4 separate regions of the Homo sapiens genome follow, and regions 2, 3 and 4 are each linked to region 1. The links are contacts of gene promoters, found by promoter capture Hi-C in blood cells and fetal thymus (Javierre and others, 2016). All regions are on one chromosome and are shown on one strand. The core of a region is centred on a gene start or on the middle of the fragment in contact, and the rest is flanking DNA. Distances in the headings are between cores, read along the strand shown.

Region 1 (2,576 bases), core at 53-2,552:
ATCTCACCTGATTCCACTGCCATCCACAGGGCTGGAAGGTGACCCTAAAGTTGGTACAGATCAGGGTTCCAGACAATTCTGGTTCCAGGCCCTTCCTCACCCCTGGGGCCCATGCTAGGATCTGCTCCCCTAAAGGGGAAGAAGGGAAGCCCTGTTATGACTGTTCCCAGTGTTGCCCACACTTGGATACACCCACCCCTCCAAGAAAGGGAGATCTAAATAGGGAAGATTAAAATCCTCCCCAAAGCCCACTACAATGTAAGCTTATGAGGAAAGATAAATGTTTTTTAATTTCTGTAACTAGAACAGAGCCTAGAACAAGGCCTGGCACATAGCAGGCACTAACTATGTATCGAATAAGTAAATTTGAAAAGGGGTAACAGGGTCAAGGAAACAGAAGGAATGTCAAGGTCCAGCTCTCAGCCAGCTCTAGAGGCTGTCAGGGAGGACAGCGAGCCTCAGGCAGACGTACTTCGAGCCACGAGAGGAACACAGGGGTATCTTTGGTGAGGGCATGAAACAAGATTGGCGTAGGATGAAATTTGGAAGTCTTTGGAGAGTGATAGGGCATTATTACCTGGGAGGCATCTGGAGGCCAGGCAACTGCTAGGCTGACGACTCCTGGGCTCCGGCATCCTATTTTCCTGGACAGACTTTGGTCCAGAGGGTTGAGGGGGGTCTAGAGTTAACCCCTAGGCTCCCCAACTCCCCAGAGGCAGCTGCCTGTAGAGGCCTACACTCACACTCTCGGGGGAAACTGAGATCAGTGTCTGTGGGGAGCTCCAGACCTAACAGGGCTGGTAAACAGTAAAGGGAGGGGCTGGTTAATGGATAATGAGACAACGAACTTGAGACTGAGAAAGACGGACCAGGCTCCATCAGCAGAAGCTGATAGACAGACACACCCTCCTCCTCCTCCTCTAGAGCCTTTGCTTCCCCCTTTTATCTCCACCTCATCCCCGTTCTCACCCTCTTGCCGACACCCCCCAAATTCCTTCTCCTTACCCCCATCTCTGGCTCCTCCTTCTGGGGGGCAATGTTGAAACTCTGGCCCCGGCCCCCCCACCACATTTCTCTGGCTCCATCCGGGGACACAGCAGTTAAGGGTGGGAAACCTCAAGGATGCTCACCCACCTCGGGGAGAGGCTGAGTCTTGTTGAGAAGAGGGGTGTTAGGGAGAGGGGTAGGGGGTTGGACACAAGGGAAAGGAGCATTTGACGTGCACGGAGCAGAGTTTGGGGGTCCTTGGAAAGGTGTGTCCAGCCCAGCCTGAGAAGTCTCCTCGGAAACTTCAGTCGACTCTGGAGAGGGCGGGAGAGATGCCCAACCCCTTAAAGGAGAATACACACAATTCTGGAAAAGTGGAGAGGAAACGGTGGAGTCTGAGACGGACGGGTGGGGAAGAAATGGGGACTGAGAGAAAAACGACTCCCTTCTTTACCCCAATCCCAGACCCTGTTCTCTTCCTGTTCATGAGTACTGGAGACCGTTTGAGGGGAGCAGTTCTATTGATTATGAAGCTGGAATCATCTGGGCTACCTGTCTGGAGTGTCTCAGTGATGACTTCCCTTAAAAGCTCCGTTCTTTTGTCTTCTCAAAGGGGTTTGGGGCGGGGAGAGGGGTAGGAATGTGAAAGTGGTTCAAGCCTCCTTGCCGCCTCTTCCAGAAGAAAATGAAAATTAGACCTGGGGGGATTTTTGTCAGCAGAGGCCCAAGAATTAGGTGAGGAAGCAGGGAAACTGGTTAAAGTGGTTTTGCATATCTTTCTCTAGAGGGCATGACACAGACATCATGTGAAGACTGCAGTGGAGAAGTATAAAAAGAGATGGAAATGTGTCCAAGATGCAGACACAAGTACAGTTTGTGTGCAAGTCTTGGGGATGTGGGTGGGACAAAAAGATCTTACCAGTTAATCTTGCCCATCACGTAGATACACAACCAATAGGCAATAAGTGCCCATTCCCGTATGTGACTCCACCCCTCCAACCCAGACACCAGATCTCCAAATGAATGATTCATGTTCAGGACTTTCACAGGTGAGGGCTGGAAACCTCTCTTCAGCTCAGCAGTCCATCCCCCGTCCCTCCCATCTGCAACCCTAGAAGCAAAGATGGGTAAGGAAAGCTGGGAACAAGGAGAGAAGGAGCTGCAGCTCCTTTAAAGGAGGGGGACTTGGGGACAGCAAAGCAAAAATCTTTATTTAGACATGAAAAAGACAGAAAATAAAATACAAAATAAGAGTTAATGAGCTGCTGTTTTATTGCTTTTGAATCTACAGAGGCAGCAATCCTTAGATGGGGGCCCCAGTTTTCCAAAGTGACACTCAATTTTCCCCTCCCCCCAGTACACCACCCTTCTGGCCTCAGCTTTCAGTTTCCTGTCTTGGCTGCAACTGTGGAAATAGTGAAGATATTGTGAGACAGAAAGTCAGTCTGGAACAAAGAGGTATACACCTGCTAAGAAGGTGGCCCAGAAGCCTGATTCTAGAAGTCCTAAAGGCTACAGAGCACCACCACCCCACCTGCCCCTAATGCATTCCATGGGCCTCAACCTCTTGGGGGAAGAAAATATTTCCC
Region 2 (2,576 bases), core at 55-2,554, 440 kb after region 1:
AATATAGTTATTTTTAATTAAGAAATAATTTATTGGCTAGACAGGGTGGCTCACTGAGTGCCTGTAATCCCAGCAACTTGAGAGGCCAAGGCGGGTGGATCACATGAGGTCAGGAGTTCGAGACCAGCCTGGCCAAAATGAAGAAACCCCATCTTTACTAAAAATACAAAACTTAGCCAGGCATGGTGGTGCGCGCCTGTAATCCCAACCACTTGGGAGGCTGAGGCAGGATAATCCCTTGGACCCGGAGGTGGAAGTTGCAGTGAGCCGAGATGGTGCCACTGCACATCAGCCTGGGCAACAGAGTGAGACTTCATTAAAAAAAAAAAAAAAAAAAAGGCCCAGCTGAATTGGCTCATGCCTGTAATCCCAGTACTTTGGGAGGCCCGAGCAGACAGATCACAAGGTGAGGAGTTCAAGACCAGCCTGGCCAACATGGCGAAACCCTGTGTCTACTAAAAAAAAACAAAAATTAGACCGTCATGGTGGCGTGCGCCTGTAATCCCAGCTACTCAGGAGGCTGAGGCAGGAGAATTGCTTGAACCTGGGAGGCGGAGGTTGCAGTGAGCCCAGATCACGCCGTTGCACTCCAGCCTGGGCGACAGAGCGAGACTCCATCTCAAAAAAAAAACAAAAAGAAAGAAAAGAAATAATTTATTGATTGTAATGGATTTATTGTTTTTAATGGGTTAATGGATGTTTTTAAATTCTTAGGTTTAATTTCTGTTTATTTTATTTTTATTTACGTATTTTTTTTTGAGACCGAGTTTTGCTTTTGTTACCTAGGCTAGAGTGCAATGGCGCCATCTCGGCTCACTGCAGCCTCCGCCTCCCAGGTTCAAGCGATTCACCTGCCTCAGCCTCCTGAGTAGCTGGGATTACAGGCATGTGCCACCATGCCCGGCTAATTTTGTATTTTTAGTAGAGACGGGGTTTCTCCATGTTGGTCAGGCTGGTCTCGAACTCCCAACCTCAGGTGATCTGCCCGCCTCGGCCTCCCTAAGCACTGGGATTACAGGTGTGAGCCACTACGCCTGGCAAATTTTTGTATTTTTAGTAGAGATGGGATTTCACCATGTGTGGCCAGGATGGCCTCGATCTCTTGACCTTGTGATCTGCCCGCCTTGGCCTCCCTAAGTACTGGGATTACAGGCGTGAGCCAACGCACCCGGCCAGGTTTAATTTCATATAGTAAATAGCCATAGCTATAACCCACAAAAACATAACTCTTTGAGGTCCTCAGTAATTTTTACCAATATAAAGGGTTTCTGAAACCAAAATATAGAATGACCTTTGTCAATTTTCTGCAATGTAGATATCCATTGTCTCTCATCTTAACATCGCATATTGCCCGATCGTCTCTAGGCTTTATTTTATCAACCAGTTAATTTTTATTTTTAATTTGTGAGATCATAAGTTTGTTAGCTTTTTATTTTGCCAAAAATGGACATAAAAATATACTACATTTATAGCATCACTACCCACCATTTTATAAACTATCACTTTATTAAAAAGGTTATACTTTAATTCCAAAAGTGTTAGAAGGACATTTTCTCAGAATAAAGGATAAACCTTCAAACTACATAAATTTAGCTATTTGAAAAATTTGCTTTGATGTCCTTGTCTTTCAGATCTCAGCTCAGGTGTCATCTCCTTGGAGGTTGACCTTATGGTGGTTGTCTGAGAGCCCACCTCTTTCCCTCGCCCATCATTCTCTTATCATATTACCCTATTTTTTTTTGTTTTTTTTCCTCCTGGGTTCAAGCGATTCTCCTGTCTCATGGCAAGCAGTTCTCCTGTCTCAGCCTCTGAAGTAGCTGGGATTATAGGCATACACCACCATGCCCAGCTAATTTTTGTATTTTTCTAGTAGAGATGAGGTTTTGCTATTAGCCAGGCTGGCCTTGAACTTCTGACCTCAGGTGATCCACCTGCCTCAGCCTCCCAAAGTGCTGGGATTAAGGCGTGAGCCACCACACCCGGCTCCTATTTTATTTTATTTTTATTTTTTTGGGACGGAGTCTCTCTCTGTCGCCAGGCTGGAGTGCAATGGCGTGCTGTCGGCTCACTGCAACCTCTGCCTCCTGGGTTCAAGCGATTCTCCTGCCTCAGCCTCCCGAGTAGCTGGGATTACAGGTGCTCGCTACCACGTCCAGCTAACTTTTTTGTATTTTTAGTAGAGACGGGGTTTCACCATGTTGGCCAGGATGGTCTCTATCTCTTGACCTTGTGATCTGCCCGGCTTGGCCTCCCAAAGTGCTGGGATTACAGGCGTGAAGCACGCCTGGCCTTTATTTTCTTTATGGCTTTTCTCATTATAAGATACTGCCTTGTTTATTTATTTGCTTATTTATTGAGACACATGGCCCCCCTCACCCCCAAAAAGAATGTAAACTGCTAACAACAGATTATTTGTTTTGTTCACCACTGCATCCTCAGCACCTAGAAGAAGGCATGGAACATAGAAAGTGCTGTAATTGTCAGGGTGTGCTGGCTTATGCCTGTAATCCCAGCGCTATGGTAGGCCAAGGTGGAAAGATTGCTTGAGTCCAGGAGTTGGAGACCAGCCTGGGCAA
Region 3 (2,576 bases), core at 46-2,545, 370 kb after region 1:
GCGCCGTGGCGGGCGCCTATAGTCCCAGCTACTCGGGAGGCTGAGGCAGGAGAATGACGTGAACCCGGGAGGCGGAGCTTGCAGTGAGCCAAGATGGCGCCATTGCACTCCAACCTGGGGGACGAGAGCGAGACTTCGTCTCAAAAGAAAAAAAATTAGCCGGACATGGTGGCAGGTGCCTGTAATCCCAGCTACTCAGGAGGCTGAGGCAGGAGAATCGCTTGAACCCAGGAGGCGGAGGTTCCAGTGAGCCGAGATCGCGCCATTCATTGCACTCCAGCCTGGGGGACGAGAGCGAGACTTCGTCTCAAAAAAGGAAAAGAAATTCAAGTCCCATAGACTCAGAGTCCCATAAATTGTATTATAGCTTCGCGGGGCAGGGGGGAAATGAACAAATATTTCAGTCTTAGAATAATTTTCTTTTTCCTTTCTTTTTTTTTTAATACGGAGTCTCTCTCTGTTGCCCAGACTGCGTGGTCTCGCCTCACTGCAACCTCTGTCTCCCGGGTTCAAGTGATTCTCCTGCCTCAGCCTCCCGAGTAGCTGGGATTACAGGCACCTGCCACCACGTCCGGCTAATTTTTTGTAGTAGAGACGGGGTTTCACGATGTTGGCCAGGCTGGTCTCAAACTCCTGACCTCATGATTGGCCCGCCCGGCCTCCCAAAGCGCTGGGATTACAGGGGTGAGCCACCGTGCCCGGCCTCTTAGAATAATTTTCTAGGTAAGGACTTTCAAGCTTGCATACGTGAGCAGACTGATTTTGGAGTGATCCAATCTTCTGTTTTCCTGCTGCCTGTTAAACACATTTTCTGACTGATGCACTTTTCTGTTTCTTCTTTTTCTCTGCTTTTCCCAAATGTCCTCTCTCTAGCCACTTTTTCTGTATATCTTTCTCACACTCCAGGCCTCTCCTGATCTCTTTCAGCTTTCTCATAGCTGGTAGTTTAAAAATAATTTGCTTGTTCTGTGGTCTAATTACAACAATAGGTAGGAGAGCAAATGAGTCTAGAGGGAGGTGATTAAAGCTTTACCATGTTTGGAGTACAGAGAGAGTCTTACAAAGGAAATAGCCTACGTGTCTGTCCAGTGAGGCCACCACAAAATGCCTGTTATATAACTGGGGGCCCTCATTGGTGCCCCGGGATGAGAAGGTGGAGAGTGGGGGTTGCTAGGAAGCCCTGCATGATTGGCTGGCCCCCAAGCAAAGAAAGGTGAGTACACTGGAAGCATGCCCTGTTGACTCCTTTTACTCCTAGTGGGCTACCTTCTGGGTCCATTGAGTCCTTCTGCATACACGTCTGTCCTGACGTAGACTGGCTACACTGACATGTGAGTCTGCCACCCGCACCTCCCCCCGCTCCAGGCAGCTTGGCTCCTTTTACATAATCATTTGAATTTCACTAAAACTGGCAGCTGGTTTCTCCTTCAGTATTAGGTTGCCAGGCGCCCGAACTCCAGGCTGATCTGTTTACTCTAAAGCTCTTGATGTACTAGTCCTTGAACTACTTTTGGAAGCAGAAGGAAGCATCATTAGTAACACCCCCTCTATTCTTGTGTTTTACAAAGCTTTTCTTGCATCCTTTTCTGTTAGAGGTAAAGTTGAGTAGATACCTCTACTATAGGGACTCTGGGGCATTTGAAGATAATCTGTGCCTTTTTTAGTATGACTAGAACGTGTCGGGTAAGGGAGGGAATCCTCACCTGGCATCTTGGAATTTATTTGGTCTGTGTTTTGGAAGTAAGTAGTACATCCAGGGAATGCCATTTACCAACCCCCATCATTATATTCTTTCTTTTCCCTTCACCATTCTTATGTTCTTTTGTTATTCTTTTTCCTTGTCTTGCCCTTTTGCCTGACAGTACAGGCATTTCCTTGGTAAGATGATCACCTTTGTTTTAGAAGCCTTTTGGAACTCCAGTAGGGTTCCTTGAGTCATACTCAACCCCTTCCTCCTCTTGCAGTGTTGTTTCATCCTACTTTTAAACTGTCTTTGTCATTCCAATAGGTTCGTCTTCCTAGGTCATATTTACTCAGGGTCTCTGTCGTTTTTATATTCTCTCAAATCCAGTCTCCTTGTACTTTTTACATTATATATCCAATCTTTTTCTTTCAGGGGCTTTTTTCTATATTTTCTCCAATATACTACTTTCTAGTCCAAAAAGCAACCTTCATTAGACAGTATTAAACACAAAGTCTCAGCAGAAATAAATGTTTACATGTTTAGATCATTCTTTTATCCAAGTGTCCCTTATCGGCTTCCATTTCCTCTTTACTCTGATTGAAGAGTCTAGCCCAGCTCTTCACTCCCTCTTTTACCCATGGATACTGCAACAGTTTGTCTTCTGAAATGGGTGGTTTTTGTTTGAGAAGCAGAATACTGTTGTAGAGCACTTTACTAAAGACCTGAATTCTGTTTATAGTTCCATTTTGTGATCTTGGGCGGGTCAGCCTCTCTGAACTTCAGTTTCCTCATCTATAAAAAGAGGACATTATTTGCCTAAACAATTTCATAGGAGTGTAGTTAGGATGATGGATATAAAAATGCTATCTAAACTCTAATATGCCATCGTAGT
Region 4 (2,576 bases), core at 54-2,553, 270 kb after region 1:
GGGAGGATCACTTGAGCCCAGGAGTTTGAGACCAGCCTGGGCAACATGGTGAGATCCTATCTTTATAAAAAGAAAAAAAAGAAGAAGAAAGTAACTAAATAAAAATAAAACTCTGTTAAAAAAAAAAAGAAAGAAAGAAAAGTGGCTATCTGAATTGAGATTTGCTGTAAGCATAAAATCCATCCCAGATTTGGAAGACTTTGCATGAAAAAAATACAAAACATCTTACTAATGATTTTTTACATTGATTACATGTAGAAAGTATAATATTTTGAATATGTTGGGTTAATTAAAATACATTAAAATTAATTTTACCTGTTTCTTTTTAGTTTTTTAAATATGTCTACTAGAAAATTCTAAATACATCTGTGACTTGCATTTTTATTTTATTTATTTATTTATTTCTTGAGACAGAGTCTCATTCTGTCACCCAGGCTGGAGTAGAGTGGCTCGATCTTGGCTTACTGCAGCCTCTGCCTCCCAGGCACAAACAATTCTCCTACCTCAGCCTCCCGAGTAACTGGGATTACAGACACCCACCACCATGCCTGGCTAATTTTTGTGTTTTTAGTAGAGACAGGGTTTCACCATGTTGGCCAGGCTGGTCTCCAACTCCTGACCTCAGGTGATCCACCCGCCTTGGCCTCCCAAAGTGCTGGGATTATAGGTGAGAGCCACCGCACTCCACCAACTTGCATTTTTGACAGAATTATATGTCTATTAAAGAGCGCCAATTTAGAACACTGAACAATAATACCATAAACAATGTAAATATACATTCTCCCTGTAAATTAATAAATTGACAACTTGATTTAGAAATCTGACTTTGGTGAATTTTCACGGCACAAGTCTGTCCCTCACATATTGATCGATTTTGTATTTACAAACTCAAATACATCTCCTTCTATAGCCCTGCAAAATGAAGGATCACGCCTTCACTGAAGTGAGCAAATCAAAGTTTTGGCATCTTCTGAGCTTTCTGGGCACAAGCTGTCAGCTCAGCCATTTCTCTGCCTGCAATTTCGCTCTTGGTTTATAATCTTGGGTTTAGGCTGTTTTTCAAGGGATAGAGTTGGTATCATTCATATTTGTTTTCCTATCACTTATGTTCCTTAAACAAAGGATTTTAAAAGTTTGTTAAATATTCTACATTTTATGCCTTTGATCATAGCTGTAAGACTGCTTGCCTTGAAAAGGATTTGCACATAATTCTCCATGGTTTTTTTCTTAATATGTTAATTGCAAACCGCTTGTAAAGATTGAGTACATGAAGATCTGAAAGACAGCAGTTATTTACAGTCATGTAAAGTAAAAATGGCAAGTGATATCTAATTAATAGCTAATAACCTAATAATATGGAGTGGAAACTTGATAACCATTACAGCACACTGTATTTTATTATCAAGGACAGAGCCTTAGAGACAGACCACAGAATTGATGTTTCATCATTATGCGATGGCCTACATTATATGACCTCTTATTTGTCCCTCAACTCCAATAGCAACCTCAAGGCTGATATAGAATAGCAGTGGAAAGGAAAATAAATGACACAAAAAGAAAAGTAGGTTTATCATGGGACCAATGTAGTGCTTTGGCCTCATAGCAGAGACCAGATGGTAGCAGCTCCTCTCTCAGCAGGTAGCTCTTCAATATCCTACGGGTTGTAAACAACAAATTCACATCATCTCCACCTGCTAATAAGTATTTTTTAAAATATTGCGGCAACATCGAAACAATGCTGAAAATACAATCCCTCAATATAAGAAAAAAAGTTTTCCTAAATATTTAGTCTGTTAAAAGAAAAAGTCTTTTCTGAGAAATGCTATTACCCACTAGAAAATCTTGGCTTCTTAAAATCCAAGAATATTCTCATCTCTTTTTTTTTTTTTTTTCTTTTTTTGAGACAGAGTCTCACTCTGTTGCCCAGGCCAGAGTGCAGTGGCGCGATCTTGGCTCACTGCAAGCTCCACCTCCCAGGTTCAAGCGATTCTCCTGCCTCAGCCTCCTGAGTAGCTGGGATTACAGGCACGTGCCACCATGCCCGGCTAATTTTTGTATTTTTTAGTAGAGACGAGGTTTCACCATATTGGCCAGGCTGCTCTCCAACTCCTGACCTTGTGATCCACCTGCCTCGGCGTCCCAAAGTGTTGGGATTACAGGCGTGAGCCACAGCGCTCGGCCTCTTTTTTTTAAATAAAGTAAATGGCCCTCATTTTACCCAATTTTGTGACTTTGTAAAAGCCAATGAAAATGCCTGAGAAACTACTGACATTAGTTTTACTGCAGTTAAATATTTGTTAACTTTGCCAGGCGCGGTGTCCCGTGCCTGTAGTCCCAGCTACTTGGGAGGCTGAGGCAGGAGACGGCTTGAGCCCAGGAGTTCTGGGCTGTAGTGTGCTATACCGATCGCGTGTCCGCACTAAGTTCGGCACCAATATGGTGACCTCCCAGGAACAGGGGACCACGAGGTTGCCTAAGGGGAGGGGTAAACTGGCCAAGGTCAGAAATAGAGCAGGTCAAAACTCCCGTGCGGATCAGTAGCAGGATCGTGCTTGTGAATAGCCACTGCACTCCAC

The links. The method cuts DNA at HindIII sites, captures the fragments that hold promoters and counts their contacts. A CHiCAGO score of 5 or more calls a contact.
Region 2: a contact is called between a fragment that was not itself captured here and the fragment with the promoter of MTMR11 in region 1, in 1 of 17 cell types (neutrophils). The highest score is 5.2, in neutrophils.
Region 3: a contact is called between a fragment that was not itself captured here and the fragment with the promoter of MTMR11 in region 1, in 1 of 17 cell types (erythroblasts). The highest score is 6.1, in erythroblasts.
Region 4: a contact is called between a fragment that was not itself captured here and the fragment with the promoter of MTMR11 in region 1, in 13 of 17 cell types (megakaryocytes, neutrophils, erythroblasts and 10 more). The highest score is 10.2, in megakaryocytes.

Annotation. Positions count from the first base shown.
Region 1 is chr1:149,935,577-149,938,152 of GRCh38, forward strand. MTMR11 (myotubularin related protein 11) reads right to left here and starts at 1,303. Exons shown (of 17, transcript NM_001145862.2): 1 at 1,006-1,303; 2 at 578-653; 3 at 8-129. The coding sequence starts at 1,071. OTUD7B (OTU deubiquitinase 7B) reads right to left here. Exons shown (of 12, transcript NM_020205.4): 12 at 2,236-2,576. RefSeq lists an enhancer at 569-1,093. The HindIII fragment of the contact is 11,640 bases long and covers 262-2,576 here.
Region 2 is chr1:150,378,662-150,381,237 of GRCh38, forward strand. All of the region lies in intron 1 of RPRD2 (regulation of nuclear pre-mRNA domain containing 2), which reads left to right. Among named protein-coding and RNA genes, the nearest start is that of RPRD2, 16 kb to the left of the region's middle. The HindIII fragment of the contact is 3,943 bases long and covers 1-2,576 here.
Region 3 is chr1:150,301,194-150,303,769 of GRCh38, forward strand. The region is part of intron 2 of MRPS21 (mitochondrial ribosomal protein S21); the gene reads left to right. Among named protein-coding and RNA genes, the nearest start is that of MRPS21, 8.6 kb to the left of the region's middle. The HindIII fragment of the contact is 541 bases long and covers 1,026-1,566 here.
Region 4 is chr1:150,209,327-150,211,902 of GRCh38, forward strand. It overlaps the pseudogene RN7SL480P. Among named protein-coding and RNA genes, the nearest start is that of ANP32E, 25 kb to the right of the region's middle. The HindIII fragment of the contact is 5,688 bases long and covers 1-2,576 here.